2 separate regions of the Homo sapiens genome follow, and region 2 is linked to region 1. Evidence: promoter capture Hi-C in human tissues and cell types (Jung and others, 2019). All regions are on one chromosome and are shown on one strand. Each heading gives the region's core, a stretch centred on a gene start or on the middle of the fragment in contact. The rest is flanking DNA. Distances are from core to core; before and after follow the strand shown.

Region 1 (4,722 bases), core at 748-3,247:
GGACTGAGCTGCCTATTCTCTGCCTTTCCTACCTGGCTACAGATCGTTCAGAAAGAGGCAGAGCGGGCCGAACGGGCCAAGGAGCGGGAGAAGCGGCGAAAGGAGCAAGAAGAAGAAGAGCAAAAGGAGCGGGAGAAGGAAGCCGAGCGGGAACGGAACCGACAGCTGGAGCGAGAGAAACGTCGGGAGCACAGTCGGGAGAGGGACAGGGAGAGAGAGAGAGAAAGGGAGCGGGACAGGGGGGACCGAGATCGGGATAGGGAAAGGGACCGAGAACGAGGCAGGGAAAGGGATCGCAGGGACACCAAGCGCCACAGCAGAAGCCGGAGTCGGAGCACACCTGTGCGGGACCGGGGTGGGCGCCGCTAGCTGGGAAAACACTAGAGCTGCAGGTACCAGCCACTCGGCCCCAGGGGGTTATGGCCACAGAGGGATAGGCACAGTCTCCACCACCCTGGAGCCAAGGGTCTTTCACATCACCTATCCCTACATACATACCAAATGGAAAAGTGGCCATCCTTTTCCCCCCAAACACACCCCCTTAACCTATCTCTTGGGACTTAGCCCGACCCTCCCTCTCATTTCCCATTAAGTCTGAGAGGCAAGAGCTAGGTTAGGCAAGGAGGTGGTTGGCCAGAGATGGGGAACAGCCAGGTGCCCCAGTCCTCTGATTTTTCCTCCATCCTGCTTACCACCTCCCTGGGTACTTACAGCCTTCTCTTGGGAACAGCCGGGGCCAGGACTGGGTCACCTATGAGCTGAATCAGCATCTCCTCCTGAGTCCCAGGGCCCCTGCAGTTCCCAGTCTCTTCTGTCCTGCAGCCCTTGCCTCTTTCCCACAGGTTCCACTTTATATCCACCTTTTCCTTTTGTTCAATTTTTATTTTTATTTTTTTTATTATTAAATGATGTGGTCTATGGAAAAAAAAATAAAAATCTGACTTAGTTTTAAACTGTGTGAGTGGCTTTCTTTGGGCAGGTTAAGAAGCCACTGTGGATATCTGAGCGTGGACATCTGAGGATATCTGGAGTAGGAGTTGCTCTCATTCCATGTGTTCCTTTAGGCTGACTGCTTCCTGCTTATTGAACTTCCCACGTCTTTTATCCCCTGCCTTGGCCCTGACCAACCCAAAGCTGTGGACCTTCCTCATTCGGGAAGGCATGGAGCAACCTGTGTCCGTGGCGGCACCCCAGCAGGGCTAGGAGGGTGGGTCCTCTTCTGGTTCCTGGTCCTGTGCACGGTTAAATTAGGGGTTTGGTCACCTGCCTGCCACCTTGGTGCCTCCCACAACTACCACCAGGGGGCGGCAGCTCCTCGCTCTGTTGGCCCCTGTAACCGAGCTTCCCAAGAAGGGTTCCACTGCCCGCCTCCGACCTCCCGCCGATGTCGTGCCTCTGTTCCCGACCCGCTCCCTGGGCCCGGGCCTCGGACTCTCTGGACCCTTCTGCCGTCCTTAAGTGTCCCCCAGCTGACCTGCTACCGTGCTTTGCATGGGCTCTCAAAACGCCGCCGCCTTGCAGCTGGGATTCCATCCACACCAGTCCCAAAAGCCAGCCGGGAACCGGGAGCCCGGAGCCGGGTCTCTCCGCAGTGGGCTCCGAATTCCCCACCTCACCGCGCGCTCGCCCGTTTTCCGCTGCGGGCGGGGACTGGCAGCTTCGCGCTCCCGGGTGCACCCGCCCCGCCAGCTCTTCGGAAATGGCCTGGCGCCGTGGCCTGGACGTCCTCCCGCCCGAGTGCCCTGCCGGGCGCTGCGGGCCCGGTCCGGGAGGGGCGCCGCATCTGTATGCGCCCCGCAGCCCAGGAGCGCCGAGGGGGCGGACGCGCGGCGCCGCCTCCGCCCCCGCCCCCGCCGCGCGGGCCCGGCTGGCCGGGGAGGGTCGGAGGCTGGGCTCTCCTCTCCCGCGCGGCGCGGAGCCGCCTCGCTCCTCCGCAGGCGGAGTCTTCTTCCCCCGCCCCCTCCGTCTCGCTCCCTTGTTCTCGCCGGGGCCGCTCAGACCTGCAGCGGAGCCGCGGCGCCCGCTCCAATCGGCTCGGGGCTGTGCCCCCGGGACCCGGCGACGGGGGCGGGCGGGGGCGCTTCCCGCCGGCCTGGGCCCCTCGGCAGTGCCAGGTAAGGGCGCCTGCCCCGGAGCAGGGGTCGGGAATCCGCGGAGGGGTAGGAGGGGGCCCGCAGCCTGCGGGGGTCTTCGGAGGGGTGCGCTCCGTGGCTGGGAGCCCGCTGCCGGCTCCCTTCTCCCGCGCTCTGCCTCTTTCCCTTCTCCCCTCGCACCTCTCTCCCTCTTTCTTCTCTCGATTTCTCTTCACCCTTCCTTCTCTGCCTGTTTGCCTTCCTTATCCCTTCCCTCTGTCTCCCCAACCCTTCCCTCTCCCTCTTGTCCTTTTTCCATCTCCTCTCCCTCTTTGCCTTTTTCTTTCTCTACCTTTCTCCCCTTTCCTGCCTTTCTCTTTTCTCTTTCTTGCTCTCCTTTCCCTCCCTCTCCTCTCCCCTTCCTGCTATCCTGTTTCCCACTCCTCTATCCCCTTCCTTCTCGCCTCCTCATCCCGCCTTCTCTCTGGTCCCCAGCCTTCCTCCGGTTTCCCCCTTCCCTCGGGAGCAAAGGGACTGTCAGGTGTGTGTCTGCTCTGAGGGAGGAGGGGCAGAAGCCACAGCTACCTGAGGGGTCCTCCCCCCCGCCCCTAGGAGAAAGGAGAGCAGTGGGAAGGGTCTCCTCTCTAGCTCCCTTCCCGTGGCCCCTCCCTGCCTCCACCCCTCCTGTCTGCTCCTTCTCCCAGAATTAAGTTCCCGAGGCCTGGCTTGACACCCCCGAAGCTGAGGTCTGCCCCTGCCTGCCCGGAACTGCCCCCGGTGACCCGTTTCCAAGCCTGGCCCCTAGGACTCCTCTCTGCCTTCAGACACCCAGGCTGCTGCCCTGGTCTCTCTCATTCTGTCTCTTGCCACTGTTCTGTTTCTGTCTCTCATCCAGTCATTTCTCTGCCGGACAGTCCCTGAGTCAGTCTAGCCGTCAGTCATTATCTGTCTCTAGCCTCTGGGTGGACCTCTCTCCCCGGTCACCTCCCCCTGTCCCCCACCCTGTATCCTCTTCCTTCAGCTCTGGCTCCCAACTCCTGTCTCACGAGCCCAGTCCCCCTTCAAGGACTGCACTGGCAGCGTGGGCTGGAGACAGGGCCTGGAGAGTGGGGCTCCCCCTTGTGGGGAGGGACTTTCACAGACTCTCAGCCCTGCCTGAGGCTGCACTCCTTGTCATCTCATGCTGACCCTAGACACCTTAAGGCCACACCTCCATGAATCCCAACTCCGTAATTTTAAGCCCTTTCTCTGGTAGCCCCGCCTCCTCCAATACCTGGCTACGTGCCCAACCTGGGAGGACAGAGACCAGATTTGGGATTCCAAGCCCTCCCAGCATCCCCTCTCCTGTGTTCCTCCCCAGTTCTCTACTCAGAGTTGACTGACCAGAGATTTATCAGCTTGGAGGGCTGGAGGTGAATACATGCAGAGCCTGGGTGGAGGAAGGATCAGCCTCTCTGCTCTCTGTCTTAGTCTGAGTTCTGGGCAGTGGAGTGTCTGGTTCCTTGGAGGTCTGGTCTTCAGCATCTAATTTTGCGGGGGAGGAGGGCTAGGGGTTTCCTTGAGCCTGAGCAGCTGCTTGTCCTGCAGGTGTGGATCCATGGGGTAGCCTCAACGCATCTGCCCCTCCACCCCAGCCAGCTCATGGGCCACGTGGCCTGGCCCAGCCTCAGCACCCAGGGCCAGTGAACAGAGCCCTGGCTGGAGTCCAAACATGTGGGGCCTGGTGAGGCTCCTGCTGGCCTGGCTGGGTGGCTGGGGCTGCATGGGGCGTCTGGCAGCCCCAGCCCGGGCCTGGGCAGGGTCCCGGGAACACCCAGGGCCTGCTCTGCTGCGGACTCGAAGGAGCTGGGTCTGGAACCAGTTCTTTGTCATTGAGGAATATGCTGGTCCAGAGCCTGTTCTCATTGGCAAGGTAAGGATGACCCCTCCCATGTCTACTCTGACACCAAGCCCTCAGGCCCTGCCCTGCAACTTCATCACTTCTGCAATGACCTTGGTCCCTCAGGACTCCCAACGCTCTACCCAAACCTAGACTCTTTAACCCTGTCTCTGTACTTGGAGCCCTCTGCCATCTTTTCGTGACCCCTGCAGCTGCACTCGGATGTTGACCGGGGAGAGGGCCGCACCAAGTACCTGTTGACCGGGGAGGGGGCAGGCACCGTATTTGTGATTGATGAGGCCACAGGCAATATTCATGTTACCAAGAGCCTTGACCGGGAGGAAAAGGCGCAATATGTGCTACTGGCCCAAGCCGTGGACCGAGCCTCCAACCGGCCCCTGGAGCCCCCATCAGAGTTCATCATCAAAGTGCAAGACATCAACGACAATCCACCCATTTTTCCCCTTGGGCCCTACCATGCCACCGTGCCCGAGATGTCCAATGTCGGTGAGCACCCCAGCTCTGAATGCCCCAGTTCCCGTCTTCTGGAGCTCTCTCACCTCTCCTTCCCTTCTTGTTGTCTGCCCCAGAACCTGCCCCCTTCAATTCAGCCTCCCTCGTATCTGCATCCCCCCCCATCGGTTGTTCTTCCCCATCCTTCCCTGCTGCTGCTGAATGGCGTGCTGGCATCCCCCACAGGGACATCAGTGATCCAGGTGACTGCTCACGATGCTGATGACCCCAGCTATGGGAACAGTGCCAAGCTGGTGT
Region 2 (4,722 bases), core at 866-3,365, 530 kb after region 1:
CTGCACTGGGAAATCATACCCCACCATCTTCTAGGTGTAAAAATCCCAAGTAGGCTTTAGCTTATGAATAATTTGATGAATTATTTCTTTGGCTATCAAAATAGTAAAAATAGAAGAAACAAGTCTGAGCTCACCTATTAATCCTCCAGGCTTGAGTCATGGGATCTTAGCATTTAGATTTGAAAGGGAGCCCAGAGGTGATTCAATCTAATAGCTAAAATGGCATAGAAGTGCCTTCTGCAACATCTCATGGTTAACCTTAGGGGTCTGGCATGAAGATATCTAAGGAAGAAAAGTTCCATACTTCACAAAGCAGCCTTTCCACTGCAGGGCAGTTCCACTTGTTCAACAATGTTTGAGGGGAGGTTGGGGCACATCTTGCACCTGCTCGTTTTGATTTGGCCTCCACACTCACCCCTTACCTGGTCTACATCGTAGTTCTTCAAATATTTGAAAGGAGTTAACTCTCTCACTTAGAGACCTGAGATAATTTCAGATAATTAGCTCAGTTTTTATCTGACCACAAAGACTGCGCCACCAACAAATGTACCATTGTGAAGTCATGCCTTAGGAGGAGCTGTTCTGAGGTGACAGAGAAGGCGAGGGAGACGTGTGAGGTAGAAAAATTATGGTTCTAACACAAACTGGGAAAGCTCTTAGAATTTAGTTCTTGACATTGCACTTCCTAGGTGAAATTGCTGAAAAACCTACCCACCATTTTGCTTAAAATTATTCTGGACTTTTCTTTCTTACTTACTTGCTCTTACAGTTACTGTGGTTCCGGCTCCAAAGCTGAGCTTGTAGTCGTTAGAACCACAGTGCGAGGTCGCCCTACACAAACCTCACCAAGACCATGGTTAAGAGAGTGGGCTAGGGGACAGGCAGGCCAGGCTCTTAATCTAGCTCTGCCCCTCATCTGCGGTGAGCCCTTGGGTAACTATTTCAACCTCTTTGCTTTAGTTTTACCTTTCACACTGTTTCCTCATCTGTGGAAGCGGAGATAGGTAATATCTATCCCAGAGGGTTGTTAGGAGGGTCAGATGAGTCAAGGTATGAAAGGTGCTTTGCATATTGCGAATGTTGAAGAAATGTTAGTTATTAGAGTATTTTCAAGAGGATCTAATTCTTTTCATCTTTAAATAATACATATAATTTTAATTTGTCATGTCTCCTCTCTGAAATCCTGGACATTCAGGGGTGCTTTAAATTATATCCAAATGCTCTTTTGTTCAGTAGCAACAGTTAAAATTTGGGCATTTTCCTTATAAAGAATAGCACCTTGAGAACATTGGCAGTTTCAGCATGTCTACTCGATCATGAGATTTGTTTACTACATATCTGTTCAAGTGACATATGAATAAGGACTAATAAAATATCATGGGTGGGGACCCAAAATGCAAAATAAAAGAACTGAAATACAGACTGAAAAGAAGAATTTAGCATAATGTGTTGGTAACTTTTTCTTCTAGGCAACTATAACTTACTTGGTTTTACATTGAGTTTGGTCCCAGATCCAAAGTAAAATTTGTTGAAGTTGTACACCATGTTTATTGGCATTACAAAAAATCCCCTGGCACTTCCTAAAAAGGAGACTTGTTATCCAGAGATGACTAACCAAATTAGACCAAGACTAACCCAACCCTACCAGTTCTTTGCTAATTCCCTGGAAAATTTGAGAACCAAAGTGAGGAATGAGCAGGGAAGGCACATTCATTATCAGAGACAGGCAAGATAAGGGCAACTGGTTTTCTTCAGTGGTTTTATTGATTTCTTTTCTTTAGTTTTCTGCTTGGGTTCATTCTTGTGTCCTCTGTGCTCAATGCACACAATATTTGAAACAGGACACTGCAAGTAAATGTTCTTTACCTTTCTCTTTTCCTAATTATAAATGAAAATTCCCCTCAGGTAGACTTAACTAAGGGGAAAATTCATATTCTGCATTTAGCTCCAGGGTGATCTGGAAGCTTCTCTCTGAGACTCTGTATCTGAATCTGGGTTGCACTTGACAACTAGACCTGAGCTTTTCTTAAGGACACCCCGAGCAACGCCAGCTGACCAGTGGTGCTCTGTATGTATGATCTAATAAGATCACTATAGCCTCTCTGTGACAGTACCTACATTATACAACCATGTATATTTTAGCATCCACATTGACACTCTCCTCCCAGACCCCACAGTCAAACTGTACATTTTGGCTTTTTTTTTTTTTTTGCTTCCTGCTTGCATATTCCCTTCAGAAAAAAAGAAACAAAGCAAAAGAAAAAAAAAGAGCCTGCAGTGTTAGTTGTCATTTGCAAGTCTAGATGAAACATTATTTATGGGTAAAATATTTTGCTGGCAATTTCAAGAGAAAAGAAACCTTAGTGCCAACAGTTAGACGCCCACACAGTTTGGAGTTAAACAGATCTCAACAAATGAACACAGTTATGAGAAGTAACACAGAAGTGACTTCAATCTAAGCCAAGTAATTATAATACTCATGCAATTTTGGAGGGCCAGGGGCTTACTTGTTCTCACTTGTAGAAATGATAAGCAATGTGTTACAGCAATGCTTTGCTGGAAGGGCACCAGAGAGCTATAGAAATAGAGCCTCATTTAAATATCTTAAATATAGGCACCTCTATGTTTAAAGACTTATTTAGAAATAGCTACTAGAATAGGCTAAAAATGTAAGTGACCAACTAGACTTGGTGTGAGACAGTTTTTGTAGCACGTAGGCTGGTCCTAGTGCAAATATTTTCAGAAGCAGAGGTTCCCCTTATGGAATCTGTTCCCATTATTCAGCAATTCTTCTAAGTTAAAATGAAATTTTTTTCTATTCATTTTCATTAACTCCTATTACTAAAAGCCTTAGCAAAAAGCTTCTCTTTCTCTTCTTGGTCTCTGATAAATAATTCTCTGCTCGCATTACCCTTTCTAGTATGCATTGTTGCTGTCTCTCCCCATCTTCAACCTCAGGCCCATTAAGTTACATGTACAGAATACATTTGTAGATTAGTAAATCAGTGCAAATAGTATTTAATTGAGGCAGCCTACCAGGTAAAACAGTCAATTGTGTCCCAGATCCAAAGGTCAGTTGCCTTGCAGAACCAGAAGAAACACTATGATTTGCTCAACAACAAAAACCAGATCAAACAGGCCAGGTTGGCAAAGCACTGAATAAAGAGCTGGCAGTGCTTCCTTTATGAATTAGGCCTGCATCACTGTTAATCTAGGTTTGGTCTGGAGTAGCCAAACTGACTTTCTACAAATCCTAAACTAACCCTCCTTCGTCTTTACAATCCCATTTTCTTTTAGGGGACCTTTGCTTTCCACTTTCCACTACAAAGTTCTAAACATTAACTGTGTATTTTCGATATATGTATAGAGCAAATACTCTCTGATTTTAGGTGTCAAAACAGCACTTGAATCTTTTCATCCAAGGAGACTCACAAAGTCCAGAATAGAGAATACGCCTCCTCTGTTGTGGGCATCACTGGATTATGTCATCAGAGAACTGTCTGAATTCTTGAATCCTCCTGAGACTGAGTCTATAGAATCAAAGTGAGGTAGGTACAGAGCTGGCATTGTCCAGTTAATTTGGCCACTCATTTCACACTGATAAAATAACTTTATAATAATCAATTATCAGACAAATTCCTAGTTTTCTACTTCACTTTTGGGCATTTCCCTTCTCCTGACTAAAGTGGTATGTGTGTTAGTTATCTGCTCAAGGACTTTAAACTGCAGCAAAAATTAGTTTTAGTATTTCCTAAGGAAGTGATGATAGTATAAGAGAGCCATGCCCAAGAGAAATCAGGGTAAGCATTGTCATATCTGGGAAGAAACATGGAATCCACCTCCAGAATGTAAGTTTCATGAAGGCAATATCACACTGAGTTTGCTTCCTGTTGGATCCCTGGTTTCAGCAACGAGCCTGGCAGAGGGCAAGTACATGAAAATATTTGTCAGATGAATCTTGCGGACTCTTCAAACTTCAAGTTTGAGCCAACTGACAGGTTTGGCAAATTAGAGACCTAAAATCTAGTTCTAGCTCAGCCATAGACTGGCTGTGGGGCCGGGATCTGTCTCTTCCCTGAGCCTCAGTTTTCTCATCCATGGAGAAAGTCAAAAAGGAATGTTGTCAAGGTTCTCTCTGCTCCGTGAGGCTACGCTGTACGAATTTTTGGCTGAAAGTCTCAGAAACAGGAAGTGTCCCTCAGTAGTCATGAGTAAACTTTTTAAAAAAAAGTGGTTTTTCAGACTTTGAGAGAGACTAATCACATTACTTTTGGTTAATGATCATTATTTACAAGGTTCTTTCCTTCTATAAATTGACATAATCTTAGCCAAATAGAATAGTGCCTTAGAAGGTTTGTTAAGGAATTAGAAATCTTGTCACCAATTACTGCACAAATCCAGGGATATGATCCCAGCCAATACAACAAGTAGCCAGTCATACATTTTAGTCCCAACACATATATTCAGGAGCAATTCCCAGAGGCACACTTACATAGCCCATTTTGCACTGAGATGCTAGATCCTAGCCAGGACGACGATTGGCTTCCTATTTGATGCTCATCCCCCTCTCTAAACATTCTTCATATGGTGTATAATTGGGTCTAAATCAGCCCTTAATCCACAGACATTGCTTAATCCAGGGATACAATTTTATACTTACTGGGTTTCACAGATAACTCCGTTCCCTGTCCGAAGATAAGCTTTCCTCCCTGGTTATAAATC

The links. The method cuts DNA at HindIII sites, captures the fragments that hold promoters and counts their contacts. A contact is called where the count stands out against the background at its distance.
Region 2: a contact is called between a fragment that was not itself captured here and the fragment with the promoter of CDH24 in region 1, in 1 of the 25 tissues and cell types used here (aorta).

The regions. Positions count from the first base shown.
Region 1 is chr14:23,054,795-23,059,516 of GRCh38, reverse strand. It overlaps CDH24 (cadherin 24), which reads left to right and starts at 1,997. Exons shown (of 13, transcript NM_144985.4): 1 at 1,997-2,114; 2 at 3,660-3,984; 3 at 4,164-4,458; 4 at 4,651-4,722. The coding sequence starts at 3,784. It overlaps ACIN1 (apoptotic chromatin condensation inducer 1), which reads left to right. Exons shown (of 19, transcript NM_001386863.1): 19 at 43-953. The coding sequence ends at 369. It overlaps LOC105370705 (collagen alpha-2(I) chain-like), which reads right to left and starts at 1,857. Exons shown (of 2, transcript NR_169511.1): 1 at 1,475-1,857; 2 at 868-1,232. RefSeq lists silencers at 1,768-1,917, 1,998-2,117. The HindIII fragment of the contact is 20,564 bases long and covers 1-4,722 here.
Region 2 is chr14:22,520,417-22,525,138 of GRCh38, reverse strand. It overlaps TRA, TRAJ23, TRAJ22, TRAJ21 and TRAJ20. Among named protein-coding and RNA genes, the nearest start is that of LINC02332, 34 kb to the left of the region's middle. The HindIII fragment of the contact is 5,765 bases long and covers 1-4,722 here.